Regions from separate parts of the Homo sapiens genome. Here regions 2, 3, 4, 5, 6 and 7 are each linked to region 1. Evidence: promoter capture Hi-C in human tissues and cell types (Jung and others, 2019). All regions are on one chromosome and are shown on one strand. Each heading gives the region's core, a stretch centred on a gene start or on the middle of the fragment in contact. The rest is flanking DNA. Distances are from core to core; before and after follow the strand shown. Region 1 holds the start of LDB1 (LIM domain binding 1). Region 2 overlaps ARMH3 (armadillo like helical domain containing 3). Region 3 overlaps ARMH3 (armadillo like helical domain containing 3). Region 4 overlaps GBF1 (golgi brefeldin A resistant guanine nucleotide exchange factor 1). Region 5 overlaps ARMH3 (armadillo like helical domain containing 3). Region 6 overlaps GBF1 (golgi brefeldin A resistant guanine nucleotide exchange factor 1). Region 7 overlaps ARMH3 (armadillo like helical domain containing 3).

Region 1 (4,341 bases), core at 1,070-3,569:
AGGGCGCCTCAGCCCTCACCCCAGGGCTGCTCAAGGTGGGGGAAATCTTTGGGCCTGGACTGCTACATGCTGCCATGCCTTCCTTGTGTTCAAGCATGTGCTCCCCCATCCAAGCAAGCTGCAAGCCAGGTCCCCTCTCTAACCTCAACTGCTACTATTCCCCACCTCCAGTCTACTCTGAAGCCCTCCCCATGTGGTTCTCCTTGAAGTCTAACCTCCATCCACCCTCTTTGGCATCAATCTATAAGACTTCTTCATGATCTGGAAAAAGACTCCCCACTCTTCCCTATCTTTTGCCCTCTCTCCCTCAGTCAGACCACCAGACACAAAAGGAACATGCCTTCTGGGGCATTGACTGAAGTTGTCTTCCCACCCACCCACAAACCCCTGGGCTTGGGCCCTCTTCCTGTTCCCATGCTGCTCCCAGAGACTAAGAAGAAGAGATTTTCTCTCTCCTCCCACTGGACCCAGGCACCCTGCCCCAACTTCAGGGCCAACCTCCCATCCACCTCCAGCCTGACAACCCCTCCATACATACATACCCGCTTACCCACTATTTGTAGGAACTAAGAATCACAATTTAAGACTCATCCCTCTAGCTTGTTCAGATCCTTAGTTTAACTGCTCTGCTCATGTGTGTTGATGGAGGGTCAGGGCCCTGGGGTGGGCTAAGAACATGATGGATCTGAAAGGGGTACCCAGCATGGGTCAATTATAAAGGAGAAAATCCACAACATAAACATGTACACCAAGCTGGTAGAAAGAGGGACGACGGGGCCAGACAGGATTCCAGCTTGGCAAGCTCTTCCCTCTCCTCTCCCCAACCCTCTGCAGCAGGAGCCAGTGGTTCCCATACTCGGATATTCTAGGATTGTTAGGTTCTCTTATTCCTCCTTCTGGGACCCATGCCCCTTAGACATCAGCCTCAGCAGGCACCTGAAGTGTGTGCCCAGCCCAGCTTGGCCTGGGTCACATGATTTTCAAGGAAGCTTCCGCACTGGCAGCTTCCCTTGGGGATTTGTGGGGGAGTGGTGGGTGTCCAGCTGTGAAGTATGTAGCCAAAGCGGGCTACATTCAGGGACACTGACTTCCAGGAGAAAGCTGACTCCAGTCTGGGGCAGGAGGGCCAATTCCAGGACCCAGAGTCCCGGGGATGGAGACAGACAGTGTGCCGTGAGGCCCTCTGTAGACTACCTCTCCAGTCGCATGGCTTCTCTCTTTCCTCCTGGCAGTGAGGTAGACGCCCTCCGCCCCCCCCACCTGCCCCCCAGGAAAAAAACTCAGACCTAGGCTATCCCTGGCAAGAGCTGATATGTTTTGGGGAGGCAGGGATCTGAGCCTGGGTCCTCTCTCAAGTTCTCAGTTTTGGGTCAAGTATTGCTCCCCCAGCTTACCTCTCCACAAATCACTCTATTTCCTAGCCTGCCCTCCCACTAGGGCGGAGATGCCAGACCCAAGGGTCCAATTATCTGGCACCTCTTAGGAGTACCTCCGGTGCCTCAGGAGGGCCAACCTTCCCTGGCAACAGGCAGGAAAAGTTGAAGGTGGGGGGCAAGATGGGCCGCAATCAATACCTCCCTGCAAACAGGGTCCTCAGAAACAGCATGGGGGGGATGTCACAGGATAGGTAAGAGGCAATGGGCAGCAGGGAAGGGGGGGCAGCCCAAACCAGCCAATCACAACTCTATGGTGACCTGAGGGGGGGGGTCAAAAGTCCAGAGTCACTTCTGATTGGCTAACAACCTGGAATTCTGAGAATTTCAGCCCCCCCCAAACCTCTCCCCAATTAGCCTACCCCCAAAAAAACATACACATAAGCCACCCCCAGCGTCTCCTCCCCGTGTTTCTGGGCTGCTGCGCATTTACACAGTTGGGGAAAACGCTACCCGCCAGCCTGAGGCCCCGCGTAGCCCTTCCAGCCCCCGGCTTCCCCCATGCCATCGACGCCCCCCACACAAGTTCTCGCCAAACACGGGGTGAGGGGTCCGCAGGGACGGCTGGGCAGGAAGGGGCCGAGTGGCCGCACGCCCCACTCACCAGGACAGGCACAGCCCACTGACATCTTCACATCGCCCGCCTCTGGGGGCCCAGCCGAGTCACGGTGCCCGCCCCTCGCGGGGACAGGCCGGGCATGAGCCGCCGCCGCCGCCCGCGGCCCCCGCTGCGCTCGCCGCCGGCCCGGCCCGGCCTCGGCCCGGTGCGGGCGGCCCCTGGCTGCGGCGAGGGGCCTGTCAGGCGCGGAGCAGACAGGAAGGAAGCCAGGCAGGAAGGCGAGCGGCCTCTGCGTGTGTGCGCGCGGGTGTGAGTCCGCGGAGTGTGTGTCCGTGTGTGCGTGTGTGCGCGTGTGCGTGTGCGTGTCTGTGCGCTCCCGCCGCCGTCGCCGAGCGCCCCCCTCTCCGCCCTCGCGCTCGCGCTCCCTCGCGCCGGCGCCGGCTCCCCAGCCCAAGCCGGGCAGGGCCGGGCTTTATTAATATGCTAATTGTCCTGCTAGTGGGAGGGGAGAGCCGTGTCAAAGTGACCCGGGAGAGCGCGCAGCAAGCGACGACGTGCGTGCGCCGCGCGGCGGGCGGGCGGCGAGGGGCTGGGAGCGCTCGGGGAACGGCATGCATGTGACGCAGCTTTTAAAAAAGGAGACGGAGGCAGAGACCCCAGAGAGGGAGGGCGAAGGGGAGGGCTTGGAGGCGCAGCCGCGCGCTCGGTGTCCGTCCTCCGGGTGCCGCCGGATGGGGAGTCTGGCTGAGCCGGAGCGGGAGCCGCGGCTGGGGGAGGCGGAGCCGGGGTGGGCAGTGTGGTGTATCTCTCTCCACCCCGGGCCGCGCTCCGGGAGGGAAAAGGGACTGCAGACCCCCTGTCCGTGCTCCCTGCTGAGACGCCAGCCTTCTTCTGGAGGCCCCTTGTTTCGCGTCCCTACCCTAGGCTGGATGGGTAAAGAAGCATTCTCTTAATTCTTGTAGCAACCCCTCAACTCACCCCTTCCCTAAATTAACCACTCCTCCTTTGCCTGCGAAACCAGTTGGGACTAGAACTAAAAGGGTTAATTAAGTGGGGTCCCCGCCCTCCTCCGCCTAAGGGCTTGGGATCTGTGTTTTGCTGGGGGGAGGGGGCTGCGGAATGACCACCAGATTGGATTACGGAGGGGCGATAGGAGGCCATCCTTCCTTCTTGCAGACTGACGCATCAGTCAAGACACTCTCTTCCCTTCCCCCCTTTCTCCAGCCTTGGTGCCTTCACCTCCGTACCAACCGCCCAACCCCACCGCCTCCGACCCCCCTGCCTGGAAGCTGCTGTCCTTTGAGGGCTTCGGAGATGAGAACAGGAAACAGGCCCCTCCAGTGCCCCCTAACCCAGAGAGGCAGAGGCTGTGGGCCGTGGGGGGTTGGATGGGAGATGATGTGGATGGTCAATGTAAGGAACACTCCTTCCCCTGGGAGGAGCCTCCCAACCTTCAGTCACACTTCAAGGACTCCCCAACCCAGCCCTAGGAGGGGAGGGGCTCCATCTCCATCCCTTCCCAAAAGCTCAGCTTTAGCTGCCTCATAAACAGGAAATACCTATTAGCCAGGAGGAGGGAAGGGAGGGGAGCCGCCTGGAGTAGAGAGTTGACCCCCTCCCTCCTGGGGTCCCCAGCTGCTAGCTTTTCTTTCTTAAGTTTCAGTATGGGCTCCAGGGATAGACGATGGAGACTTGGACTAGTGTCTCCTCCCTAGGGCGTCTGGCCCTGACTGGGTAGGGGGTTCTCCTCTTTGTTACTTAGAGGGGTGTTGGTTGAGAAGGCTGTTTGGTTCCCTCACTCTGGCTCAGAGTCTGCACAGCTGGCTTGACTGGCTGGGGGAGGGTTACAAATGCGGAGGCTTAAAGTGTTTATGAGACCTCTTCTCTCCACCTTAGGTTTTTGCTGAGGGAGCATGAAATGATGGAACGGTGCAGAGTCCAGGGATTGAAAAGAAGGCCTGCCTAGGAATGGAGACCCTCCCCACCATGTGCTTAGGATGGGGGATAGGGGAGCTTGTACACTGTGGAGTCTCCCACCCCCAGGTTTCCCCATCTCCACCCCCACCAGGAGCAGAGAGGACCTGACTGAAGCCATCCACACTCACACAAGTATTTCCTTGGCAGCATCCCCTGCCTGAGTGCACCCCCTCCCTGCATTCTCCCAGACAAAGGTCAGCACTAGAGGGAGTAGAGAGAACATAAGGCAACAGAACACTGGCCCGAAATTGTGGATACCTAGGTTTGAACGCAAGATTCGCTCCTCAATACCTGAGTGATTTGAGACAACTGACCACCCCACCTGGGACACTAGCTTTATCCTCTGTAACCTATGGCTTGGTGAGTATCAAA
Region 2 (4,341 bases), core at 937-3,436, 250 kb before region 1:
CTTTAAGCCCTGAGTCTTGAAAGGAAAAGAAAAACACCTAGTTTTTATCTTGCTAATCTTCTGCTAGTCTTCTTGTTATATGACAAGAAGGCCTGGACAACAAAAACTCTTTTACTGGATTGGTTCCATTGATTCTGTCTCTGAAATCGCAAAGCACCCTGCCAGTAAGGAACTGCCTTTTAAAGTTCTTTTGATACTGTACAATGCCACTGGCTACCCATGACCCCACGAATTCAGCACCAACCATGGGTGCCCCAAAGATGTCTCTAATTCAGCCTCCAAATCAGAGGGTCATAAAGACCTTTAAGGCTCATTACATATGGTACTCTATGCAAAGGACTGTCAATGCTGTGGGAGAAAACCCAATTGGAGAGAATATCATGAAAATCTGGAAGGATTACAACACTGAAGATGCCATCACTGTTACAGAAAAAGCCATGGGCGAGGTGCAGTGGCTCACACCTGTAATCCCTGCACTTTGGGAGGTCAAGGTGGGAGGACTGCTGGCATCCGGGAGTTCAAGACCAGCCTGGGCAACATAGTGAGACCCCACCTCTACAAAAAATAAAAAATTAGCTGGGTGTGATGGTGCATGCCTGTGGTCCCAGCTACTCGGGAGGCTGAGGTGGGAGGATCACTTGAGCCCAGGAGGCCAAGGCTACAGTGAGCAGTGATCACGTGAATGCGCCCCAGCTTGTATGACAGAGTGAGACCCCATCCCAAAAAAAAAAGAAAAAGCCATGAAAGGCTGGGGGTGGTGTCTAATGGCTATAATCTCAGCACTTTGGGACGCTGAGGCAGGAGAATGGCTTGAGGTCAGGAGTTTGAGATCAGGCTGGGCAACATAGTGAGACCCTGTTTCTATTAAAAAAAAAAAAAAAGAATTGGAAAAAGCCATGAAAGTCATCAAGTCCAAAACAACAAATTTCTGCAGGAGAAAACTGTGTCCAGATGTTGTGCATGACTTCACAGGATTTACTACAGAGTCAAATCAAGGAAATTACAAAAGAGGTTGCAGATATGGATCTTGGAGAAATTCCAGAGCTAACAGACACAACATCAGAGGAATAAACAGAAGAAGACATGAGGGAGATGCGTTCTTCCCCAACCAGTGCCAGACAATAGGAAGAAGACATAGAAGAAGCAGAGCCAAGAAACAAATTGACATTAGACAATCTGGATGAAGGTTTCCAATTATTCAAGACTGCTTTTGACTTCTTTTACAACATGAACCATTCTATGATACAGGCAATAGAACTAAAGCAAATCGTGGAAAAAGACTGGTACCATATAGCAACATTTTTCAGAGAAATAAAAAAGTAAAAATGTTAGACAGAAATTATGATGGATTTCCACAAAGTTAGTTATACCAAGTGTGCCTACTTCTCCTGCCTCCCCTTTCCACCTCCTCCACCTCTTCTGCCTCTGCCATCCTTAGACAGCAAGACCAACCCCTCCCTCCCTGTCCTCCTTCCTCCTCCTCAGCCTACTCAACATGAAGATGATGAGGAAGATCTTTATGACCCACTTCCACTTAATGAATAGTAAATACATTTTCTCTTCCTTATGATTCTCTTAATAACATTTTCTTTCCTCTAACTTTATTGTAAGAGTACAGTATATAATACATATATAAAATATGGGTTAATCAACTGTTTATGTTATCAGCAAAGCTTCTGGGCCAGGCACGGTGGCTCACGCCTATAATCCCAGCACTTTGGGAGGCCAAGGCAGGTGGATCACCTGAAGTCAGGAGTTCAAGACTAGCTTGGCCAATATAATGAAACCCCATTTCTATTAAAAATACAAAAATTAGCCGGGTGTGGTGGCAGGCGCCTGTAATCCCAGCTGCTTGGGAGGCTGAGGCACAAGAATCGTTTGAACCCGGGAGGCAGAGGTTGCAGTGAGCCAAAATTGTGCCACTGCACTCCAGCTTGGGAGACAGAGTGAGACTCTGTCTCAAAAAAAAAAAAAAAAGAGGTTAAGCTTCTGGTCAATAGTAGGCTATTAGCAGTTAAGTTTTTGAAGAGTCAAAATATGCAAATTTTCAACTGCACAGGGGGCCAGTGCCTCTAACTTGGGTGTTGTTTAAGGGTCACCAGCAGACAGAAAATAAGTAAAGAGAGAATATTTAAAAGCTACCAACATACTTAACTTCTAAAAGCGATTTATAGAAAACAACTCAACAACAAGGGAACACATTCTTTTCAAATGCACACAGAACATTCAACAAGATGGACTGTACAATGGACCATAAAGCAACTCTCAATAAATTTAAAAGGATTGTAATCACACTGAGTATATTTTCTGACCATCAGGGAATTAAATATGCAATTAGTAACAAAAATATATCTTGAAAATCCCCAAATAATGGAAATGAAACACATTACTATATATCACCAGAGAAATGAGAAAATATTTTAAACTGAATGAAAATGAAAACACAACCTACCAAAATTTGTGAGATGTTGTTAGCACAGGAAAAATTTACAGCTCTAACTTTTCATATTAGAAAATAAGATCTAAAATCAATGACCTAAATTTCTACCTTATGAAATTAGAAAGAGAGCAAATTAAATCAAAGCAAACAGAAGGAAATAATACAGATAACCATATAAATCAATGAAAAGGAAAAATAACAGGCTGGGCATAGTGGTAACACCTGTAATCCCAGCACCTTGAGAGGCTGAGGGGGGTGGATCACTTGAGCTCAAGAGTTTGAGACCAGCCTGAGCAACATGGCAAAACTCCATCTCTACAAAAAATACAAGAATTAGCTAGGTGTGGTGGCGGAAGCCTGTAGTCCCAGATACTCAGGAGGTTGAAGCCAGAGGATCACTTGATCCTGGGAAGTGGAGGCTGCAGTGAGCAGAGATTGCGCCACTGCACTCCAGCCTGGGTGACGAAGTGAGATCCTGTCTTAAAAAGAAAACAAAAGAAAAATAACAGAAAACCAATGAAACTAAAAGCTAATTCTTTGAAAGATTAATAAAATTGACAAACCTCTAACCAGGCTGATAAGCAACAGAAGAGAAAAGACACACATTACTCATATCATGAATTTGAGAGGGCATCACTATAAATCCTACAGGGATTTCAAGGAACAGGGAGAATTTTATGAACGAATTATGCCAATAAATTCAACAACCTACATAAATGAATAACTTCCTTGAAGACACAAATGATTAAAACTGGTTCAAGAACAAGTAGTAAACTGACTATTCCTAAATCTATTAAAGAAATTCAACTAACAATTAAAATGTTTTCCACAGAAGTATACTGATATATGCATTTTACTTTGAAACACATTAAAAAAAGATGGATTGATGGATGGAGATCTATCCTATGGGTTATACATGTGATAAAGCAAGTAGAGTGAAATGTAAATAACAGAATTTAGGTGAGGGTTATGTGGCTATTCACCATATAATTTTTTCCAACTTTACTATATGTTTGAAATTTTCCCTAATAAAATATTGGGTATAAATTCTTCCCACAAAGAAAACTATAGGTCCAGATGACTTCACTGATTATGCTACTAAACATTAAGCAAGAAATAAAACCAATCCTATACAAACTCTTTTTAAAAACAGGGGAGGAAGGAATACTTCCCCAACTCATTTTTTAAGAGCAATATTACTCTAATACCCAAACCAAACAAAGACATCACAAGAAAACAATGAACTTTGGGAGGCCTGGTAGCCTGTAGTCCCAGCTACTCAGGAGGCTGAAGTGGGAGGATCACCTGAGCCCGACGAGGTTGACGCTGCAGTGAGCTGTGATCATGCTACTGTACTCTAGCCTGGATGACAGAGTAAGACCCTGTCTCAAAAAAACCCAAACAACAAACAAACAACCAAAAAACCCAAAAATCTAATAAATAAGTTTATCAAGGATGCAGGAAAAAAAAGTCAATTAAAAAACAAGTATATTTCCATAAACTAGCAACAAACGACTGGAAATTGAAATTTAAAATACCATTTACATGACATAAAAATGAAATATTTAGGGATAAATTGAGCAAAATAGGCATAAAACAAGTACACTACGAAACACTGACAAAAATTTTAACAGACCTAAATAAATGGAGAGGTATATTATGTTTACTCCATTATGGATATGAAAACAGTATTATTAAAAGTATCAATTCTCTTCCAAGTCATCTATAGAGTTAATGCAATTCTAATCAAAATCTCACCAGTCTTTTTGCAGAAACAAGCTAATTTTATACAGAAATGGAAAGGACCTAGAATATTCAAAAACATTTAAAAAAAACAAAATTAGAGGGTTAGCTGATTTCAAGATTTATTATAGACATACAATAATCAAGACATGGTAGAC
Region 3 (4,341 bases), core at 470-2,969, 230 kb before region 1:
CCTTCTCTTACTGCATAAAACTCAAGATGTTGAATTATTTTGCATAAAAATGATATAGTAAAATTAATGTGAACTAGTCCAACAAGAAAATGGTAGCATCACAAAGCACCTCACAGACAGCACAGCATCAAAGAACAGGATTCAGGATAGCTCCACAGGCAGAGAGGAAAAAAGGAAATGAAGGCCATTTATAAAAGCAGTTTTAAATGTGAGGATGGATTCTCACAGCTGGGCTCACAAAAGAGAACAAATATGTCAAAGGGAACAACTGACAGACTAATAGAGTCCTATCCATCTGGCTGAGAAAAGAGCCACTGGTGGGAATACTGAGAAGCTTGTCTATTAGGAAAAAGGCTTGCTTGGTGCTTCACTGGGAGAACTGAATAGCTTTGAGGAACACTGAAACACATGGTCAAATCATAGCTGGCTGGCTGGCTCTGCCAGCAAGAAGCTCAAACAAGGGTTACAAAGATGCACTGGCAAAAAAGGAAGAACAGGGCACATATGGTCTTCCTACTGGCTTGGGGTCTATACCCTGGCCCCTCCAATTTGGGAGTAGGATGAAAAGGAAAGGGAACCATGTGAATAGGATGTCTTATTTAGTGCTTTTTAAAAAAGGACTCAAGAGTTTCATTTTGACACATCAAGTTCAATCCCATGCCACGCTAACGCCTCATCTGTACTTTTATATAATGCAGAGCTGAGTGCAGGCACTCTGGGAGAAGGGGAAATCAGGCCAGATTTAAAGAAAACAAAGACACAAGGCTATCTGCATCTCTAACTCAGTCCATACCACAGAAAAACCTCCTCAAAAATAATTGCTCAAGGCAAAGAGAACTCAATTACTAAGGAAAATCTGTCCCAATGAGGGCTCATGTTTTAACGAGCCAAATAGCTTCAAATTAAGCTGAACTCAGGGTTTTTCTAATTGGCAGTTTCATCCATTTCTAAGTTCTCATTTCTTATTTTCAAAAATCAAAATGACTCTCTGCCTAAAATTTTAAAAAAAGAAATGCCTTATCACACTCTAAAACAAATAATTCACCAGATTTTCACCTACATATCTTCTATATAATTAACAAACCCTTCAGATGGCACAAACGCAGACAGCATCACTCTGTATTAAAAGTACTATCAACCAACCCCACACTAATTCCTCTCAGCAGCCTGGCCCTGGTCACTACCACAAAAGCTCAGTCACAGAATCCCCCTGCCATCAGAGAGAAGGCAACTGCTTGATCCTAGCCACCAACTAGGTCATCTGGGGAAAGTAGTGGCTTACCTGCTCCTCTGACAGTTGGGATATGTGATTCACAGCAGCGTAGGACTCAATTTTGGGGTTAAAGTGGTTGATGATGGCTCTGAAACAAAGAATTCGTATTAATATGGTGCCAGATAGAAGAGGTGGATACATCTGTTAAAAAATAAGGATCAAGTACCCTCTGGTTTAGAGTACTAGAGCATGGGACCGATTGTGACTGGGTAACTTCCTCTTATTGAACATGAGGTAGTCACAAATGGGGGTGAATTGATAACTCTGAAGTGGGAAGGATTTACTATTAGACAGAAAATAGAATCAAGCATCTCTGCTCTGCAAATGAACTAACGGAAAAAACCCAAAGCCAAACAAAAATATTGAGTCCTTCAGATGAGAAAGGGAACCCAGAGGGCTGTCCACTAGGGGGCCCTGGTGCTTCAATCAGAAAGAAAAGCTGTCTTGTCTGACTTGGGAGAACAGGGCACTCAGTAAAGCTGGGCCAACAACATATAGGCTAAATAGAAGCAATCTTCATACTTGTTAGTAAATAGTTTCAAACCAAAATTTTATATCCGGCCATTCAACCCAAAAGCTGAGTGTCATTTTAAAACACTCCCTTCTCCATCACTTAGTCACATCCAAAATTACCTAGTCTTATCAAATCTACCTCTTAAAAATCTCTGAAATCTGAAATAAATTTCCCTGAAACCAGTGCCTTGGTATAGGTCTTTGTCATTTCTTGCCTGGTGTAGCAAAAAGAACACAGGTTTTAGATCAGGGTTTTACATGAGTCCATATGAATATAAATGATTCATAGAGAGAGACAAATCTCTTTTTTTCATATATATATATATATTTATTTATATTTATATTTTAGACAGGGTGTCACTCTGTTACCAAGTCTGGAATGCAGTGGCACAATCATGGCTCACTGCATCCTTAACCTCCCAGGCTCAAGCGATCCTCCCACCTAAGCCTCCCTAGCAGCTGGGACTACAGGCATGTGCCAGCATGCCCGGCTAATTATTTTTGTATTTTGTTGGTAGAAACACGGTTTTGCCATGTCGCCCAGGCTCAAGCCTGGGCTCAAGCAATCCACAGGTCTCCACCTCCCAAAGTGCTGGGATTATAGACATGAGCCACAGCGGCTGGCCAACAAATCTTTCTCATAGAACAATTTCAAATAATATATGTAGATACTTCTCCCTATAGGAAATGAAGTTTATTTCTCATTCCTGAGGGTGGGCTAGATTTAGTGATTTATTGCCAAAGACTAGAGTAGCAAATGGGAAACACAGTAACTTTATAGCAAAGAAGCCTGGTAAACACTACCTTAACCAAATGATGAAGCTGTAGATTGCCAGTGATATCATGTAGATACCATGTAACCCTTGGTATGATCTGATGAGAAGGGCACTTAATATCTCAATCTAATCACAAGAAAAATATCAGACAGGGGACATTCTACAGGATACCTGACTGGTATTTTTTTTTTTTTTTTTTTTGAGACAGGGTCTCACTTTGTCATCCAGGCTGGAGTGCAGTGGCACAAACATGGCTCACTACAGCCTCCATCTCCTTGGCTCAAGCAATCCTCCCACTTCAGCCTCCCAAGTAGCTGGGACTACAGGCATGTGCCACCATGTCTGGCTAATTTTTGTATTTTTTGTAGAGATGGGGTTTTGCCAGATTGCCCAGGCTGGTCTCAAACTCCTGAGCTCAGGCAGTCCTCCCTCCTCACCTCCTAAAATGCTGGGATTACAGGCATGAGCCATTGCTCCTGACGCTGACTGGTAGTTTCTTTCTTTCTTCCTTTTTTTTTTTTGAGACGGAGTTTTGCTCTTGTTGCCCAGGCTGGAGTGCAATGGTGCGATCTCAGCTCCCTGCAACCTCCACCTTCCGGGTTTAAGCAATTCTTCTGCCTCAGCTTCCCAAGAAGCTGGGATTACAGGCCCCCGCCACCATGACCAGCTAATTTTGTATTTTTAATAGAGATGGGGTTTCACCACATTGGCCAAGCTGTTCTCAAACTCCTGACCTTTCAGGTGATCCACTCACCTTGGTCTCCCAAAGTATTGGGATTACAGGTGTGAGCCACCGTGCCCAGCCAGTACTTTCTTAAGACTCTAAAAGTCATGAAAAACAAGAGTTGAGAAATTGTCACAAATCACTGGGGAGATATGACAATTAAATGCATATCCTGGAATGGACCCTGGCACAGCAAGAGGACATTAATGGAAAAACTGGTAAAATCTAATTAAAATACGGAATTTAGTTAATAATAATGCCAGTTACTTAGTGTTGATACATGTACCTTGGTGACATAAAATGACGGAAATTAGGCTGAGGGTATCCAGGAACTCTGTGGATTATCTTTTTACTTTTTCTATAAATCTAAAATTATTCCAAAACAGAAAGTTTATTAAAATGGGTAGTGTGGGCTAGGCGTGGTGGCTCACGCATGTAATTCCAGCACTTTGAGAGGCTAAGGTGAGCGGATCACTTGAGCCCAGGAGTTCAAGATCAGCCTGGGTAACATGGTGAAACCCTGTCTCTACAAAAAATACAAAAAAATTTAGCCAGGTGTGGTGGCACACACTTGTGGTCCCAGCTACTTGGGAGGCTGAGGTGGGAGGATCACTTAAGCCTGGGAGACAGAGGTTTCAGTGAGCCAAGATTGTGCCACTGCACTCCAGCCTGGGTGACATAGTGAAACCCTGTCTCCCCGCAAAAAACCCCACCCAAAATCAACAACAACAACAAAATGGGTGCGTGGGCTGGGTGCAGTGGCTCACAACTATAATCCCAGCACTTTGGGAGGCTAAGGTGGGCGGATTACTTGAACCCAGGAGTTCGAGACCAGCCTGAGCAACATGGTGAGACCTTGTCTCTACAAAATAAAAATAATAATAATAATAAGCCAGGGCCAGGTGTGGTGGCATTTGCCTGTAGTCTCAGCTACTTGGAAGGCTGAAGTGGGAGGATCACTTGAGCCCAGGGGGATGAGGCTGCAGTGAGTGGTGTTTGTGCTACCACGCTCCAGCCTGGGCAATATAACGAGACCTTCTCTCAAAAATAAAAAA
Region 4 (4,341 bases), core at 478-2,977, 220 kb after region 1:
GGAGTTCAACTTGCCCCCAACCCCACTTGTTGCAGAGTTGCTCCTGTTAGAGCTTCTCTTATGCTCCTGGCAATCAACAGTTGAACCTAGAGAGCAAAACTCTTGTTCTCCCTAGACAAAACTCTTTAAGGAAAGTTAACTTTATATATCATGATTCTCTTTTTTGGAAGAGGTAGGGAAGTGACATGATAATGAAGGTTCCTGGTGGGCTCATTAAAAAGTTTAACCCTTCTAGTTTTTCATCAGTAGGTTTCTATAAAGCACTGACTTACCAAATGAAAGTACTGGAATGAACATATCTTAGCAGTCATAGATTCCAACAACCTTCTTCTTTTTTTTTTTTTTTTTTTTTGAGACAGAGTCTCCTTCTGTCACCCAGGCTGGAGTGCAGTGGTGCAGTCTCGGCTCACTGTAGCCTCTGCCTCCCAGGTTGAAGCAATTCTCATGCCTCAGCCTCCAAAGTAGCTGAGATTACAGGCACGTGCCACCACACCAGGCTAATTTTTTTTGTATTTTTATTAGAGACATGGTTTCACTATGTTGGCCAGGCTGATCTGAAACTCGTGACCTCAAGTGATCCACTCACCTCGGCCTCCCAAAGTGCTGGGATTAGAGGTGTGAGCCACTGCGCCCAGCCGATTTCAACTATCTAATTTGACAGATGAAGGTCTTGGGTATCATATATCTGGCTATTGATAGGAGTGAGACTAGTCCATTGACTGAATTGTATGCTGTGTGAGGGTTACACACAGAGCCTCGGCTGGGTGCGGTGGCTTACACCTGTAATCCCAGCACTTTGGTAGGCCAAGGCAGGCGGATTACCTGAGGTTGGGAGTTTGAGACCAGCCTGACAAACATGGAGATACCCCGTCTCTACTAAAAATACAAAATTAGCTGGGCGTGGTGGCGCTCATCAGTACAGTGATGAGAGAAACCAAGAAGATCTGAATAATGGAGAGACATACCAAGTTCATGAATTGGTAGGCACAACATAGCAAAGATATCATGTCTCCCCAAATTGATCTATAGACTCAATGCAATTCCTTTCAAACTTCCAACAAGGCAAGTTTGTCTTAAATTGAAATGGAAAGGCAAAGGAATTGGAACACTGAATGATATTGGAAAAAAAAATGAAGTTGGAGGAATCACACCACTGTTATTAAGACTTAGTATAAGCCGGGCATGGTGGCTCACGCCTATAATCCCAGCACTTTGGAAGGCCGAGACGGGTGGATCACCTGAGGTCAGGAGTTCAAGACCAGCCTGGCCAACATGGCAAAATCTCGTCTATACTAAAAATACAAAAATTAGCCAGACGAGGTGGTGTGTGCCTGTAATCCCAACTACTCAGGAGGCTGAGGCATGAGAATCACTTGAACCCGGGAGGTAGAGGTTGCAGTGAGCCGAGATCATGCCACTGCACTCCAGCCTGGGTGACAGAGCGAGACTCTGTCTCAAAAAAAGACTTAGTATATATCGGCAGGGCACAGTGGCTTATGCCTGTAATGCCAGCACTTTGGGAGGCTGAGGCGGACAGATCACAGGGTCAAGAGATCGAGACCATCCTGGCCAACATGGTGAAACCCCGTCTCTACTAAAAGTACAAAAAAATTAACTGGGCGTGGTGGCACGTTCCTGTAGTCCCAGCTACTCAGGAGGCTGAGGCAGGAGAATCGCTTGAACCCAGGAGGCAAGGTTGCAGTGAGCCAAGATCGAGCCACTGCACTCTAGCCTGGGTAACAGAGCAAGACTCCGTCTCAAAAAAAAAAAGACTTAGTATATATTTATAATAATTAACACAGTGTCGTGTTGTCAGACTTAGACACATAGATCAATGAAACAGAACAGAACCCAGAAGAGACTCACAAAAATATGGCCAATTTAATTTTTATTTTTTGGAACAGGGTCTTACTCTGTCACCCCAGGCTGGAGTGCAGTGGTATGATCACAGTTCACTGCAGCCTCAGCCTCCCAGGCTCAAGCAATCCTCTCACCTCAGCCTCCTGAGTCGCTGGGACTACAGGCACATGCCATCATACCTGGTTAATTTTTTTTTTTTTTTTTTGAGACAGGATCTCACTTTGTCACCCAGGCTGGAGTGCAGTGGCACGATCTCAGCTCACTGCAGCCTCTACCTCCTGGGTTCAAGATATTCTTTCACCTCAGCCTCCCCAGTAGCTGGGACTACAGGTGCGCGCCACCATGCCCCACTAATTTTTGTATTTTTTGGTAGAGATGGGGTTTCACCATGTTTGCCAGGCTGGTCTTGAACTCCTGACCTCAGGTGATCCACCCACCTCAGCCTCCCAAAGTGCTGGGATTATAGGCATGAGGCATGAGCCACTGCTCCTGGTCCATGCCTTTTTTTTTTTTTTTTTTTTTTTGAGACAGAGTCTCGCTGTGTTGCCCAGGCTGGAGTGCAGTGGCACGATCTCCGCTCACTGCAAGCTCTGCCTCCCAGGTTCACGCCATTCTCCTGCCTCAGCCTTCCTGAGTAGCTGGGACTACAGGCTCCCGCCACCACGCCTGGCTAATTTTTTGTATTTTTAGTAGAGACGGGGTTTCACCGTGTTAGCCAGGATGGTCTCGATCTCCTGACCTTGTGATCCGCCTGCCTCGGCCTCCCAAAGTGCTGGGATTACAGGCGTGAGCCACCACGCCTGGCCGTTTTTTTAATTATTTTCTGTAGAGATGATCTCACTATGTTGCCCAGGCTGGTCTCGAACTCCTAGACTCAAGGGATCCACCCACCTCAGTCTTCCAAAGTGCTGGGACCAGTGCCCAACCTGGTCAATTTATTTTTGACAAAGGTGCAAAGACAACTTAATGAGATATGTTGGAAACAGTAGGAAATTCTTAGGCAAAGGAAAAATGAGCCTCAATCTAAACCTCACACCTTATGCAAAAATTAACTGAAAATAGATCATAGGTGAAAAACATAAATCTGTAAACATTTTAGGAGAAAATGGGAGGGTGGAAATCTTTGTGACTTGGAATTAGGCAGAGTCAATTTAGACATTAAACCAAAACACAATCCATAAAATATTAATAAGTTGGACTTCATCAAGAGTAAAAGTGTCTGTTCTATGAAAGATGTTAAGGGAATGAAAAAATAAGCTTAAGACTGGGAGAAAATACTTAGAAATAACTGTATCACTACTGAAGGACTTGAATTCAGAATAAAGAAGTCTCCAAACTCAATAGTAAGAAAACAATTTAGTTTAATAATGGATAAAAGACTTGAGCAGACATGTCACCCAAAAGGATATACAGACGGCAAATAAGCACATGAAAAGATGTTCAACATAATTAGTCATTAGAGAAATGCAAATTTAAACCACATGGAGCTACTATTACATACATACTTGAATCGCTTAAGTAAAAACACTGAAATACAAAGTACTGAAGAGGATGTGGAGAAACTAGAATTCTTATTGCTAGTGGGAATACAAAGTGATAAAATGACATTGGAAAAGAGTTTGACAGTAAAGCTAACCACACCTTTACCTTTTGACCCAGGAATCCTACCCCTGGGTACTTACCCTAAAGAAGTGGAAACCTGTGTTCACACAAACACTGATACACAAATGTTTATAGCAGCTCCATTCATAATTGCCCCAAACTGGAGATCCCACATGTCCTTCAACCAGTGAATGGATAAAGAAACTGATACATACAGGCAATGAATACTACTCAGCAGTAAAAAGAAACAAGCTATTGATATATGCAATAGCTTGGAAAAATTTCAGTCATCATGTTGAATGAAGGAAGCCAGTCTGAAAATTGGCTGTAAAATTACATGCTGTATAAATCATTCATTTAAAGAAAAGAATTAATTTTACCAAATTAGCAAAAAGAGGCTGAATGCACATCACCCTAGAAGTGTGGACCCCATATATAAAACTGCCCTACTCTTTTACCGTGAAGGAAGACATGAAGCAAGTATATAGTTGTAGCAACTAAATGAAATCACAGAAAATCTGTACCTGTCCCGATTCTCAAAGATTTTTTTCCTCTAGACTTTTATATGTCAAATATACCTCATGACCACTTTTAAGATAACAAACCAAATTGTACATAATTCATGCTCCTAAAGCAGCAAGACTAGATGACTTTACATTTTTTTATGTACTTTTTTTTTTTTTTTTGAGTCGGAGTCTTGTTCTGTCACCCAGGCTGGAGTGCAGTGGCGTGACCTCAGCTCACTGAAAGCTCTGCCTCCTGGGTTCACACCATTCTCCTGCCTCAGCCTCCCGAGTAGCTGGGACTACAGGTGCCCACCACCACACCCAGCTAATTTTTTTGTATTTTTAGTAGAGACCAGGTTTCACCATGTTAGCC
Region 5 (4,341 bases), core at 588-3,087, 160 kb before region 1:
TCTATTGTCATCAAGCTTTAGACATGTATCTGTTTCAGACATCATTGCTAAGAGGAAAATGTATCCATTCTAACTGGTCACCAGATATAGCAGCTATACTGTATGTACTCCTCTAGATGAGGAGAGCTCATAAAGAGAAAAAAAGCCCTTAACTGCTCTAACTATTCAAACAAAGTGAAGCTTGCGCTGACCTCTCGTTACAGTGACAACATTTATTGAAATCTCTTTCTGCCTGGCAATTCTTAGCGAGGGGAGAGATTCCTAAAACCCAAGCAACCTCAATAAAGAGACTGACTGCCAAGTCCCTAGTTTAGCAGTGCAGCTTCAGACATTTTTGCAAATAAATATTAAGCATAAAAGAAGTTATCAGTTACCTTATACTCATTCACCTAGCACATTTTGTCCATGAAATGAGTCCTGCTTCTCTGCCCATCTCAGATAATGCCCCTGTACCTACCTCCCCTACTTGATGGGATACTATAAAGGGGTTCAGCAGCTGCAGGCAATCTGTGGTCCTTCTGTCTTCTCCCCCACAAACCCCCACCTTCCACAGACCCAAGAAAAGGCTTGACCTCTCTTTTTCTAGGACCATATCTGCTTCTTTGCCAGCAAAGAAGTTCATTCTCCCATGCTGTCAGAGTTTTGTGTGAAGTTTACTACTCTTAAAGTAGAGATGTGAGCTTTGATTTGGAACAGCAGGGAATGATGAGTAGGAGTGAGACTCTCCAGACTCTTGCTGCCTACCACACAACACCCCTCACTCTCAATCCTTTAAAAGCACAGGTACAGTAAAGAAACAGCAGGCAAGGAAAGTACAAGAGGCTGGCTTCACCCACATTCTGTTTCTAAAGCCTGAATCTTCCCCTCAAATAGTAAAAAAAAGCCTTGCCAGGCATGAAGGAGATAGGCATCTTCATTTATAAACTCTTTACCCCGGCCCCAACTTGAGTTCTCTGGGGTTTCATAATGAAAAGGCAAATGATAGGCAGCTGGCCCTTTTAATGGTGTCTGTTAAGTGATCAAGTATCTGTTGGACTGGGGGGACAAAAAGGCTCCAAGGGAGCCCATTCAGGATCACACAACCTGCTTAGCTCCTACCAGGAGCACAGGAATAATGGGGCTAGCTAAAATTCACATAAAAATGACTAACCCAAACTTCCCTCCTTAAAGAAGATCACCTTGCTGAGTGAGCTACGTGGGGGCTGCCCACCCCACCACCTAATCCCCAGAGTTTAGACAAGCCCTGTTAATGATATACTACCTGACAATCGGACTCTATAAAATCATAGAGGCGAGAGAAAGGGATGGGCAGCACGCTTGGCACTCTGCAAAACGTAATGGCTAGAGACAAAGCAGCTTTTGCACACATCCCATCAACAAGGGCTTTTGTCCCCAGGACACACAGCACAGAGATGCAGCCTCAGCAGTGGCTATGTGGTAATTAAAGGGCAGGAAACCTGGAGGAAAGGATGTGGGAGCAATGATTTATTGCTCCTCTGCTGGACTACAGCTAGTCTTGATCTCTGGGATTCAGAATCCAGGATGACAAAGTGAGAAATATTAGAGGAGGAAGAGAGCAACTCTGGCACGGGCAACCTGTGTCCCAACTGCCACAGGCATTAGCGGAGCCAGAGTATTGAAAGGGAGAGTCCAGTACCACAATACTCTGAGAGTCAGTGCCAGAGTGGCTTGCATTCTGCCCCTGAAAATGCAGGTCAGATATTCTGCTCCCCCAAGAACCAAGGTCTTCTCACTTGGAAGTAAGAATTCTCTACAGGGGCTGGGCGCAGTGGCTCACGCCTGTAATCCTAGCACTTTGGGAGGCTAAGGCAGGCAGATTGCCTGAGTTCAGGAGTTCGAGAACAGCCTGGGCAACACGGTGAAACCCTGTCTCTACTAAAATACAAAAAATTAGCTGGGCGTGGCGGTGTGCGCCTGTAGGCCCAGCTACTCGAGAGGCTGAGGCAGAAGAATTGCTTAAACCCGGGAGGCGGAGGCTGCAGTGAGCCGAGATCGCACCACTGCACTCCACCTTGGGCGACAGAGCAAGACTCCTTCTCCAAAAAAAAAAAGAACTATCTACAGGGAATTTAATAGGCAACTAAAATGAAGCCTCTGACATCACAGATGGTAATTCTTCTTCAAGAGAGAATGTCCCAAATATCCCATGAAATAGTGCTTTTCTCCATCATAATCTCCTTGACTTTGCACTCACTATATCAACTGTTCAGTGTCCTATACACCACTACACACAGATTCTAGCCTCTGACCTGATATGATGGGAGTTTTAAGTCTGTGAGGCTTTGACATAGCTGATTATAGATTTTTAGAGCTAGAAAATGCCTTAGGTCATTTAATCCGATTTCCTCATTTTTGGATAAGAAAACTCCATGCCCCATTCCACCCTCACCCCAAACTAGCTGGTGACTAAGCTGGGACTAGGACCTTGTCACCTGTTTAGTGTTCTTTCTACCATGCCATTAAGAAGATAAGCCAGGTACAGTGGCTCATGCCTGTAATCCCAGCACTTTGGGAGGCTGAGGCAGGCTGATCATGAGGTCAGGAGTTCGAGACCAGCCCGGCCAAGATGGTGAAACCCCGTCTCTACTAAAAAATACAAAAATTAGCCAGGCACGGTGGCGGGCACCTGTAATCCCAGCTACTCGTGAGGCTGAGGCAGGAGAATCGCTTGAACCTGGAAGGCGGAGTTTGCAGTGAGCCGAGATTGCACCACAGCACTCTAGCCTGGGCGACAGAGCAAAACTCCGTCTCAAAAAAAAAAAAAAAAAAAGAAGATTAAACAAATAAAGGTGCGAGATCAAGCTGAACGTGAAAGTGGGGTTACAGCTTACTATAAATGGTGTGCTTAGATCTGCTGACTATACTGTTATCAGCACTTCTCTAGACTCTGGTTTATAACTTTCTCCACCTGTTGGCTGCTCTACGTCATTTTCATGTATTTGGTCCCCATTTTCCCTTGGTCCTCAGCTACCTGTTAAAGTACAAGTATTTAATACCTCATTATCGCCTTCCTGTCACTCACTGGCAACACAAAAAGACTCCCAGAAGCTTTGCTCAGCACGAGCCACCTCAGCAGGCCTCTCTGCCAGCTCCTTGGCCTGCTCTCTGCTGTCTTATCTACATCTCAGCTCTCACCTCCACCTCTCTATCCCTTGTGGCTGCTTGCTCTCTCTTTTTTTTTTTAAGCACATAACTATCAACTAAAACTGTTCCTAATTCCCTCAGTCAGTGTTGCCTTCTTCAAAATTAGGTACTGCCAATGGAAGATGATTGGATATGGACATTAAAGGGAGCCAAGATCCCCTTTCTTTAGAAAAAATCAGAACCAAAACAAAAAAATATGGGTATAAACAATTAATAACCAGGTTTATTTATAAACTATTATGGACCGAGCTTTGCACAGGGTTTATGCCAAAAAAGACAGGTTTAGGCCAAAGAAGAAAATGCCCTGTGTCAGGAGCAGTTTCAAGGACAGCAGAGAACTGGCACTCAGGATCTCAGTGCCAACACAGAGCTCATGCTAACAGGCTCCTGACTCACCCCCTCTACATACACACACATTTTTAGAAAACTGCCCTTGATCCACTTGTCCACTTGATGTCATCTGGGCACATGACCAGCCAAATTGTTCCAAGGACACTCACAGAAGTAGCAGTACATACAGGGAAGAATTAAGATAACTAAAAAATAAGGGGATGATTGCATAAACATAGTACGGTTAATCAGTCATACATCTGTAAGACTTTGCAATCAAGTACAGTAAATGTTGCAGTCATGAAGATATGAGGGACAGGATGTACCATTTAATTTAATCCTTTGCCTTATCATGTTTCTCATTGTTAAATAATAGTTTCTAAAATGAAGTGGGGCAAAAGGGCTAATACAGGATTCTTCACCAAAGGCCTGACTCCTGGTCTGAGAGATTTCCAACGAAGCATGACCTTATGGTATAGAAACTTAACACTGTGTAAACAGCTTTGCCCATTAGGTGAGCAATGGCTGCTCACTCCCTCAAAAGAGAATGGCATAGCTTGTCGCAGAGAATATCCTTTTGGGTAAGGGCAAGCTTGGTAGTTGAGACTTTCCAAACCTGAAGAGATAATGCCCATGGGCCCATACTCCACATCCCTGGGAATGCGCTGTCCCAAAATACCAACGTGAAGAGACACATCACAGAGGAATGCATCATTTCCTCCAGAAGAATGACAACTACTACAAGTTAATAACTGTGTCCAGAAGCTCACACAGAGCATCTCAAACTTTCCTTTTTTTTTTTTTACCCTCTATCTGATACCTTAAAAAAAGACACTTAACTACAGA
Region 6 (4,341 bases), core at 1,331-3,830, 150 kb after region 1:
TCTACCCAGTTTCTCATGAAACTGACTTGGACATGGTCCTTTTTTGCAAAGGGTTTCTGTTTGCATTTTTCTAGGCTTTCTGCTGGCTTGATTGGTAAGACTATCACTGTTGGAAATGGGTGGTTCATTGGACATTGTCAGTAAACCAAAATGATTTTTTTTTCTCTTTTTGTAGAAAGAATCTTTAAAATGTATAAGTACTACCTACACTACTCCTCCAGGAATATTATCTCATTATTGTGAAGGAAATAAGTCCTTTTCTCCAGTAAGGTTGGCTAAGTCCATACTAGTTTTTCTCACAGATGTATGTCATTGGACCACATTTACAGTCAGTATTTGCCTAAACTGTATGATGACTACAAGGTCTATAGCATTTAGAGTAATAAGATATTCTAATAATACCAAATTTGAAAAGAGGGTTGCTCTTGGAAGAAAAAGGGTGTCCAAGAGCAAAGTTTGCATACTGTTACTTTGGATAAAGCTTTAGCTTACCACCAGTGAGAGAGACTTGACTGCTGTCCCTCATTTGGTCTTGAAGTCCTCTCAGGACTCCTTTTAGATTATTCTGAAGGAGTTAAAACAGATGTGTGGTTACCAGGGGCTGGGAGGGGGTATGGAGAGTGACTGCTAATGGCTACAGGGTTCCTTTTTGGGGTAATGAAAATGTTCTAGAATTAGATAGTAGCGATGGTTGCACAACTTTGTGAGTATACAAGAAACCACTGAATTGTATACTTGAAAAGGATAATTTTATAGTATGTGAATCATATCTCAGTTTATAAAGGAGGCAAATGTAGGCTGCAGAAGTGATGGATTTGCCAGTTTTTTCTCAGGTCTCAGAACTGTGGAGGGAAGTCTCTGTAGTCACTGCTGTGCTTTGGACCCATTACCCAGCAAAGGCAGCATAAGGCTCTGTTCAGCTTCTGGCCCAGTTTGTCCTTTTATGTCTCTCTCATTAACTCAAGGAAGCACATGGCTTTTATATTTAAATTTATTCAAACTGTAATCTTTGACATTTGAGTTAGCTTTTAGTACAGTTTTGCATTTATAGTAATATATATTATGTATTTTCTCTATCCCCAAAGAATCCGTTTTAATCTTTTCCGGATGCAAATTTCAGGCTGTCTTGTCCCATCTTCCCTCTCTTGCTCTCTTTCCCCTCCCCCCACGGAGTGTGTTTGATCAGGTGTGGCAGGAATATCCACTGTCAAGCTGCGCCCTTTATATTAGTCAATATTATCCTTCTCCCCCCTCCCTGTCTGTCTGCCCCTTTGGGCTTTCCCAGTTGATTTATAATTTTGGAATTCTCATTGGAGTCTGTAATACAGTTTGTTCATTATTTAACCAAAACCTGTTTAATGAGCAGAGAGAGGCAATGTAAATGTTAGGCATGTTGCAGTGATGTACCTTTGTGCTTCTCAGAGCGGGTGGGTAGTTAACTCTGTGCTGCCTGCAGGGCTGGGGTGTCCTGGCCTTAGGGGCAGAAGGGCCACTGCCTCTCTCTTACATCTGCCCAAGCCCTGCCATGGGTTTAGATTCCAAAGACACATTTCCTTTTATTCTTCTAAGAATCTTTTGGGGCTCTTGCATATGGGAGTTATCTTCAGTCTCGCAGCTAGACCTTGTGGTAGGATCTGTGGCATGGGATGGGGCATGGAAGGGAAAGTGAAATATCAGGATACTTGATATTGCTCTTGGTTTTAGATCTGACAAGAGTAGACAGTTTATGGGAATGCTTCTAGCCAATATGGTCTGTGGTCTTTGATCTCTTTGTTCCCAGACTAGATAAATTCTTGCAAGCCTTAGTTCCCTTCATCCAGTATAGCTTTATGGAAAGGGCTATAGTCAGTTGTGAGTTGTGGTGTTTGGTTGTAGTCATTTGCCTCCAGATATAGTCTGTCTTTGTCCTTGGTCTTTAAACTTAGATCATTACAAAGAGATTCTTTTCCAGAAAATTTTTGGTTTAAAACAGGAGAGGAACAGTCTAAAAGTATCACAACCAGGCTAGGTGCAGTGACCCACATCTGTAATCTAGCACTTTGGGTGGCCAAGACAGCAGGATTACTTGAGGCTGGGAGTTCGAGACCAGCATGGGCAACATACCAAGATTCCCCCCATCTCTACAAAAATAAAAATAAAAAAAATTAGTTGGGTATGGTGGCGTACAACTGTAGTTCCAGCTACTTAGGCTGAGGCGAGAGGATCACTTGAGCCCAGGAGTTCGAGGTTACAGTGACCCATGATTGCGCCACTGTACTCTAGCCTGAGTGACAAGAGTGAGACCCTTTCAATGAATGAATGAATGAATGAATGAATGAAAGAAAGTATCACAACCAAAATCTTCTCTTATGGGATCATCTTTTAATGACTTACTTTAAAGCCTTCAGGGCCAGGGCTTGAGGAAGACTTCTTAGGGTGTGCGTGTGTCTATGTGCGTGTGAGGGTGTGGTGGTGAGGAGTTTGCCTTTGGAGATTTAGTCCCAGGTCTTTTTAGCTCTGAGGACCTAATGTCCAGTTTTGGTTATCAGGACTGGGGTTCTCAGTGTAAGACTAAGGTGGAGGGCCGGGTGCGGTGGCTCACGCCTGTAATCCCAGCACTTTGGGAGGCCGAGGCGGGCAGATCACGAGGTCAGGAGATTGAGACCATCCTGGCGAACACGGTGAAACCCCGTCTCTACTAAAAAAATACAAAAAATTAGTCGGGCATGGTGGCAGGCGCCTGTAGTCCCAGCTACTCGGGAGGCTGAGGCAGGAGAATGGCCTGAACCTGGGAGGCGCAGCTTGCAGTGAGCCGAGATCGTGCCACTGCACTCCAGCCTGGGTGACAGAGCGATACTCTGTCTCAAAAAAAAAAACTAAGGTGGTCTTGAGGCCCAGTATAGGTACCCATATTAACTATAACATTGTTCTAGCTTCTTAGACCTTTTCTTTTGGGGATTCTCCAAGATTTGGATTCCTTCAGGGCCTAGCTTATTGAGTTGCTTCTAACTGATATTTATTGACTATCTGGTATGTGCCAGGCATTTTTCTTAGGTACTTAGGAAGTGGGTCTGTAATGGTAAACAATCAGTCAGACTTCCTGCCCTCATAGCCACTGGTTTGACAGGACTAATGACTCTAGCTGATCATTCCAAAGCTAACATTTTGTAGCCTCTACTTTATGCTATATGGTCCCTATCAGGCATGGAATGGATGACCATGAGTGAGAGCAATCTGCTGCCAGCTTTTCTTATTCCTGCTCTTTCCTTAAGGAACAAGCCAAAGAAATAAGTAAAAACAATAGCTCATATTTGCTTATTTGGCTTTCACATGTAAAGCTGTTATGGCCAGAGTTTAGCTATTCCCAAAGACATTGGTGGGTTGCATAGCGTAATTCTGGGGGATAGGATATTTCTTTACAGAGCTTACTGGGACAGCAGGTTATGGCGTGCTTGAGTTTAAGAGGGAGAAGCACGTGCCAGGAGAAAGTGGATGTGTCAGGAGTTTATTTAAGTATAGTTTATCCTGGACAAACACACCTGTAGGGTACTGTCTGTCTCAAGCTTTGTGAATTCAGAGTCTGAGCTAGGAGGTTTGAGTCCATCTAACCTCCAGAGGTTTGCAGAGAACATTTAAACAGAGTCTGGAAGCCAACTTGGGAGGAACTATGACTTAACACCTGTCTGGCCTGGGCCTCTTAGCAGTAGCCGCTTAGGTAGAAAAGAAACTGTTTGAGAATGCCTGATACCTCAAGTTTAATCTGTTTCATTTGGAAAATGGGGAGGTGTAGAGAAAAGAGATTTTAGTAGTCATTGTCAGGAAAAAGATTGAATAAGAGTATATTATATGTGCCAGGCATGGTGGCTCACACCTGTAATCCCAGCACTTTGGGAGGCTAAGGCGGGTGGATGACTTGAGGTCAGCAGTTCGAGACCAGCCTGGCCAACATGGTGAAACCCTGTCTCTACTAAAAATACAAAAATTAGCCAGGTGCGGTGGCGCATGCCTGTAGTCCCAGCTACTCAGGAGGCTGAAGCAGGTGAATTGCTTGAACCCAGGAGGTGAGATTGCAGTGAGCTGAGATCGTGCCACTGCACTCCAGCCTGGGTGGCAGATCAAGACTCCATCTCAACAACAACAACAACAACAACAACAAAAGCGAGTATGTTATATGAAAAAAATTTGCTGGAGTCCTATTGATTAAGTGCCTACTTTTATTTTTTCCTACAGGGGTCTATAGTTTAGGGAGTAAAGTAATATATCATTATTAATCAGCATGAGAAGAAGGTTGAATGGGTCATCAGCTTTTGTTCCACTTGGAATTGAGCTTGTGAATTGTTCAAGGCCTAAGTAGGAACTAAA
Region 7 (4,341 bases), core at 1,077-3,576, 140 kb before region 1:
TGGATAAATTGATACTCTTCATTTGAGAGGATTAGCTTTTATATTTCCTATTTTCAATTTAAATTCACAAATTCAACATTCAATTAACTATGATCTCAGCCCTTAGAATCCCTAGTGTATAGAGGTTTCTAAATGGCCTAAAATGCAATGTCTTAACTAAATCCAGATTCTAAGTCTCACTTTGTCATATCCTCGCTGCCTTAAAAGTACTTAAATTAGGACTTTTTTAGTTAAGGGAGGGTTTGGTCAACCACAGGCCCAAGGCTTGGACTGTACCCCTCTGGAACTCCAGGCTCATCACACAAACCAAAAGGTTTAGAAGAAACTGTCAGACCTACCCTTTTCATTCATTCATTCAACAAATCTTGACTGTATACCAACTGAATGCTATTGCTTAAGTCTTATTATACTAAGCTATAAAGTTCCTAGAAAACTGAACCTAGGTAAACTGCTAGTTTCAGGTAAATGAAACCGGCTCCTCCTTTTGTCTTTCGGGGGTTTTGTTTTGTTTTTGTTTTTGAGATAGAGTCTCACTCTGTCACAGTGGCTGGAGTGCAGTGGCATGATCTCGGCTCACTGCAACCTCTGCCTCCTGGGTTCAAGTGATTCTCATGCCTCAGCCTCCTAAGTAGCTCGGATTACAGATGCCTGCCACCATGCCTGGCTGATTTTTATATTTTTAGTAGAGATGGGGTTTTACCATGTTGGCCAGGCTGGTCTCAAACTCCCAACGTCAGGCGGTCCGCCCACCTCAGCCTCCCAAAGTGCTAGGATTACAGGCGGGAGCCACCGTGCCCAGCCTGAGACTCTTTCAAGTTCTATGGCTATAACCCGAGACAAAGAATATCCCAAGACCCTACTGACTTTAGCAGACACCACATTAATCTGTGGGGTATCAATCTGACAGCTGACGGAATCAAGCTAAAATAGGGGTAGCTACTACTATAAAGACACATGCACATGTATGTTCACTGCAGCACTATTCACAATAGCTAAGACATGGAACCAACCCAAATGCCCATCAATGATAGACTGGATCAAGAAAATGTGGTACATATACACCATGAAATACTATGCAGCCAGAAAAAGGAATGAGATCATGTCCTTTGCAGCGACATGGATGAAGCTGGAAGCCATCATCCTCAGCAAACTAACACAAGAACAGACAACCAAACACTGCATGCTCTCACTCATAAGTGGGAGCTGAACATTGAGAACACATGCACACAGAGAGGGGAACAACACACACTAGGGCCTGTTGGGGGGTTGGGGGGTGAGGGGAGGGAACTCGGAGGATGGGTCAATAGGCCATGGCACGCATATACCTATGTAACAAACCTGCACATTCTGCACATGTAATCGTTTTTTTGTTTTTTTAAGAAGAAATAATGAAAAAAAAAGAAAAAGAAAAAAAACAGGGGTAGCTAATTTCTTGGGCTTCTTACCAGAGGAGAAAAGAAGAAAGCAGAGAAAACACTACTAACCTCTCTCTGCAGAATGAGAGCCAGAGACACCAGGTAGAGGAATTAAAATGCCTAACAACTGACCAGGCTTGGTGGCTCACGCCTGTAATCCTAGCACTTTGGGAGGCTGAGGCAGTAGGACTGCTTGAGGCCAAGAGTTCAAGACCAACCTGGCCAACATAGTGATAGCCCGTCTTAAAAATAAATAAATAAACAAAATGCCTAACAACGTACCAAGGATACAAGTGAATTGAACTAAATTTATAAGCTAAAGTCCTAAAATTACTCTTCTCCAGATATTTTCATAGCACTCCGAATAATAAGCCTCCATTGCTACCTTATTAGCTTATTCTACTTGCTCCATTATTCACATCTCTCTCTGTTCTTCTCACTCCCTAAGTGGTCTTGCAGGAGCCTCTCAGACAGAATTTAGTAAAAACTATTTAAACAGTACTCTCTTAAAAGACTTGGGTACAGGCCGGGCATGGTGGCTCACGCCTGTAATCCCAGCACTTTGGGAGGTAGAGGCGGGTGGATCACGAGGTCAGGAGATTGAGACCATCTTGGCTAGCACGGTGAAACCCCGTCTCTATCTAAAAATACAAAAAATTAGCTGGGCGCGGTGGTGGGTGCCTGTAGTCCCAGGTACTCGGGAGGCTGAGGCAGGAGAATGGCGTGAACTTGCAGTGAGGTGGAGCTTGCAGTGAGCCAAGATCGCACCACTGCACTCCAGCCTGGGCGACAGAGCGAGACTCTATCTCAAAAAAAAAAAAAAAAAAAAAAACAAAGACTGGGGTACCTTCAGCAGTGATATTAAAAATATTTTACAGGCCGGGTATAGCGGGTATAGTGGCTCACACCTGTAATCCCAGCACTTTGGGAAGCCAAGGTGGGTGGATCACCTGAGGTCAGGAGTTTGACACCAACCTAGTCAACATGGTGAAATGCCATCTCTACCAAAAAAAAAACACAAAAATTGGCCAGGAGTGGTAGTGCAGGCCTGTAATCCCAACTACTTGGGAGGCTGAGGCACAAGAATTGCTTGAACCCGGGAGGCGGAGGTTACAGTGAGCTGAGATTGCGCCATTGCACTCCAGCCTAGATGCCAGAGTAAGACTGTCTCAAAAAAAGAAAAAAACATGTATTTTACAAACCGTACAGAAAAATAATCTATAAATCAATACATACATGGAAAAATTTTAAGTCATTCCCTTTTATTCTCTAATAAACTAACCTTGTGATATTGTAAAAAGGGTCCCCAACACCCAGGCCATGGACGAGTACTGGTTAGAAACCAGGCTGCACAGCAGGAGGTGAGTGGCAGGTGAGCAAGGGAAACTTCAACTGTATTTACAGCTGCTGCCCATGGTCTGCATTACCACCTGAACTCTGCCTCCTGTCAGATCAGTGGCAGCATTAGATTCTCATAGGAGCACAAACCCTATTGTGAACTGCGCATGCAAGGGATCTAGGTTGTGGCTCCTTATGATAATCTAATGCCTCATGATCTGTCACTGTCTCCCATCACTCCCAGACAGGACCATCTAGTTGCAGGAAAACAAGCTTAAGGCTCCCACTGATTCTACATTATGGTGAGTTACAGAATTATTTCATTATATATTACGATGTAATAATAACAAATAAAATACACAATAAATGTTATGCACTTGGATCATCTCGAAACCATCACTGCCCCCAGATCTGTGAAAAAATTGTCTTCCATGAAACTGGTTCCTGGTGCCAAAAAGGTTGGGGACCACTGTTCTAAAATATATATTTGGTCTTCAACCCTGTTTCCTGACATACAACTCCTAAAATCCTTAGAATCTCCAAAGTGATGTCTGTTTGTATGTTGAGGTGACTGACGGCTGGCCTCCCCTAGGTAGCTTCAGAATGAGGGTTGGTCACCAGGGAGACCAAGGCATGATTAGCGAGCTGGGCTTTCAGCCCTAGCCCTGACTTCCAGGGAGAGAAGAGGGGCTGAAGGTTAAGTTGATTACCAATGGCCAGTGGTTTTTATTTTATTTTATTTATTTTTTGAGACAAGGTCTCACTCTGTCACCTAGGCTGGAATGCAGTGGTGCAATCACGGCTCACCGCAGCCTTGACCTCCACGGCTCAAACCATCCTCCCTCCTCAGCCTCCCAAGTAGCTGGGACTACAAGCACACACTACCACACCTAACTAATTTTTGTAGAGACAAGGTGTCACCAAGTTGCTCAGGCTGGGCTCAAGTGATCCATCTACCTCAGCCTCCCAAAGTGCTAGGATTACAGGCATGAACCATGGCCAGCCAATGGTTTAATCAAACATGCCTACATAATGAAATCTCCATAAGAAACCAAAAGTACAGGGTTTGGAGAGCTTCTGGATAGCTAAACACATGGAGGCCTACAGGAAGGCGAACAAGAATTCATCTACGTGCAGGGAGGTTGGCACACCCCAACTCCATGGGGTCAGAAGCTCCTGGGCTCCAGACCCTTTCAGACCTCACCCTATGTATCTCTTCATCTGACTGTTTATATGTTTCTTTAAAATATCCTTTGTAATAAACTGGTAAATGTGTTTCCCTGAATTCTGTGAGCCACTCTAGCAAATTAATCAAACCTAAGGAGGAGGTTGTAGGAACCCCAATTTATAGCCGGTCCATCAGAAACACAGGCAAAATAACCTTGGGCTTCTGATTGGCTTTGAAAGCCAGGGGTAGTCTTAGGGACTGAGCCCTAAACCCATGGGATCTGAAACTACCTCCAGGTAGATAGTGTCAGAATTGAAATACAGTACACCCAGCTGCTATCTGCTACAGAACTGATTGCTTGCTTGGTGTGTAGGGACTAAACCCTCCCCACATTTGGTCATAGAAGTCTTCTGTGTTGAT

The links. The method cuts DNA at HindIII sites, captures the fragments that hold promoters and counts their contacts. A contact is called where the count stands out against the background at its distance.
Region 2: a contact is called between a fragment that was not itself captured here and the fragment with the promoter of LDB1 in region 1, in 3 of the 25 tissues and cell types used here (mesenchymal stem cells, neural progenitor cells and thymus).
Region 3: a contact is called between a fragment that was not itself captured here and the fragment with the promoter of LDB1 in region 1, in 2 of the 25 tissues and cell types used here (hippocampus and mesendoderm cells).
Region 4: a contact is called between a fragment that was not itself captured here and the fragment with the promoter of LDB1 in region 1, in 2 of the 25 tissues and cell types used here (hippocampus and mesendoderm cells).
Region 5: a contact is called between a fragment that was not itself captured here and the fragment with the promoter of LDB1 in region 1, in 1 of the 25 tissues and cell types used here (IMR-90 fibroblasts).
Region 6: a fragment that was not itself captured here is called in contact with the fragment with the promoter of LDB1 in region 1 in 2 of the 25 tissues and cell types used here (IMR-90 fibroblasts and lymphoblastoid cells).
Region 7: a contact is called between a fragment that was not itself captured here and the fragment with the promoter of LDB1 in region 1, in 1 of the 25 tissues and cell types used here (IMR-90 fibroblasts).

Annotation. Positions count from the first base shown.
Region 1 is chr10:102,118,049-102,122,389 of GRCh38, forward strand. It overlaps LDB1 (LIM domain binding 1), which reads right to left and starts at 2,320. Exons shown (of 11, transcript NM_001113407.3): 1 at 2,038-2,320. The coding sequence starts at 2,062. It also overlaps a transcript of PPRC1 not described here. RefSeq lists enhancers at 1-500, 2,206-2,957, 2,958-3,709, 3,710-4,341 and silencers at 1,960-2,029, 2,120-2,199, 2,260-2,559, 2,580-2,709. The HindIII fragment of the contact is 10,982 bases long and covers 1-4,341 here.
Region 2 is chr10:101,867,111-101,871,451 of GRCh38, forward strand. All of the region lies in intron 24 of ARMH3 (armadillo like helical domain containing 3), which reads right to left. The region is part of intron 2 of LOC101927445 (a long non-coding RNA gene); the gene reads left to right. Among named protein-coding and RNA genes, the nearest start is that of KCNIP2, 25 kb to the left of the region's middle. The HindIII fragment of the contact is 4,841 bases long and covers 1-4,341 here.
Region 3 is chr10:101,888,130-101,892,470 of GRCh38, forward strand. ARMH3 (armadillo like helical domain containing 3) reads right to left here. Exons shown (of 26, transcript NM_024541.3): 24 at 1,283-1,361. Among named protein-coding and RNA genes, the nearest start is that of KCNIP2, 46 kb to the left of the region's middle. The HindIII fragment of the contact is 5,467 bases long and covers 1-4,341 here.
Region 4 is chr10:102,337,907-102,342,247 of GRCh38, forward strand. The region is part of intron 3 of GBF1 (golgi brefeldin A resistant guanine nucleotide exchange factor 1); the gene reads left to right. Among named protein-coding and RNA genes, the nearest start is that of NFKB2, 56 kb to the right of the region's middle. The HindIII fragment of the contact is 4,292 bases long and covers 1-3,873 here.
Region 5 is chr10:101,958,118-101,962,458 of GRCh38, forward strand. The region is part of intron 20 of ARMH3 (armadillo like helical domain containing 3); the gene reads right to left. Among named protein-coding and RNA genes, the nearest start is that of ARMH3, 96 kb to the right of the region's middle. The HindIII fragment of the contact is 3,481 bases long and covers 98-3,578 here.
Region 6 is chr10:102,263,395-102,267,735 of GRCh38, forward strand. The region is part of intron 3 of GBF1 (golgi brefeldin A resistant guanine nucleotide exchange factor 1); the gene reads left to right. Among named protein-coding and RNA genes, the nearest start is that of GBF1, 20 kb to the left of the region's middle. The HindIII fragment of the contact is 6,652 bases long and covers 1-4,341 here.
Region 7 is chr10:101,979,798-101,984,138 of GRCh38, forward strand. The region is part of intron 19 of ARMH3 (armadillo like helical domain containing 3); the gene reads right to left. Among named protein-coding and RNA genes, the nearest start is that of ARMH3, 74 kb to the right of the region's middle. The HindIII fragment of the contact is 5,754 bases long and covers 1-4,341 here.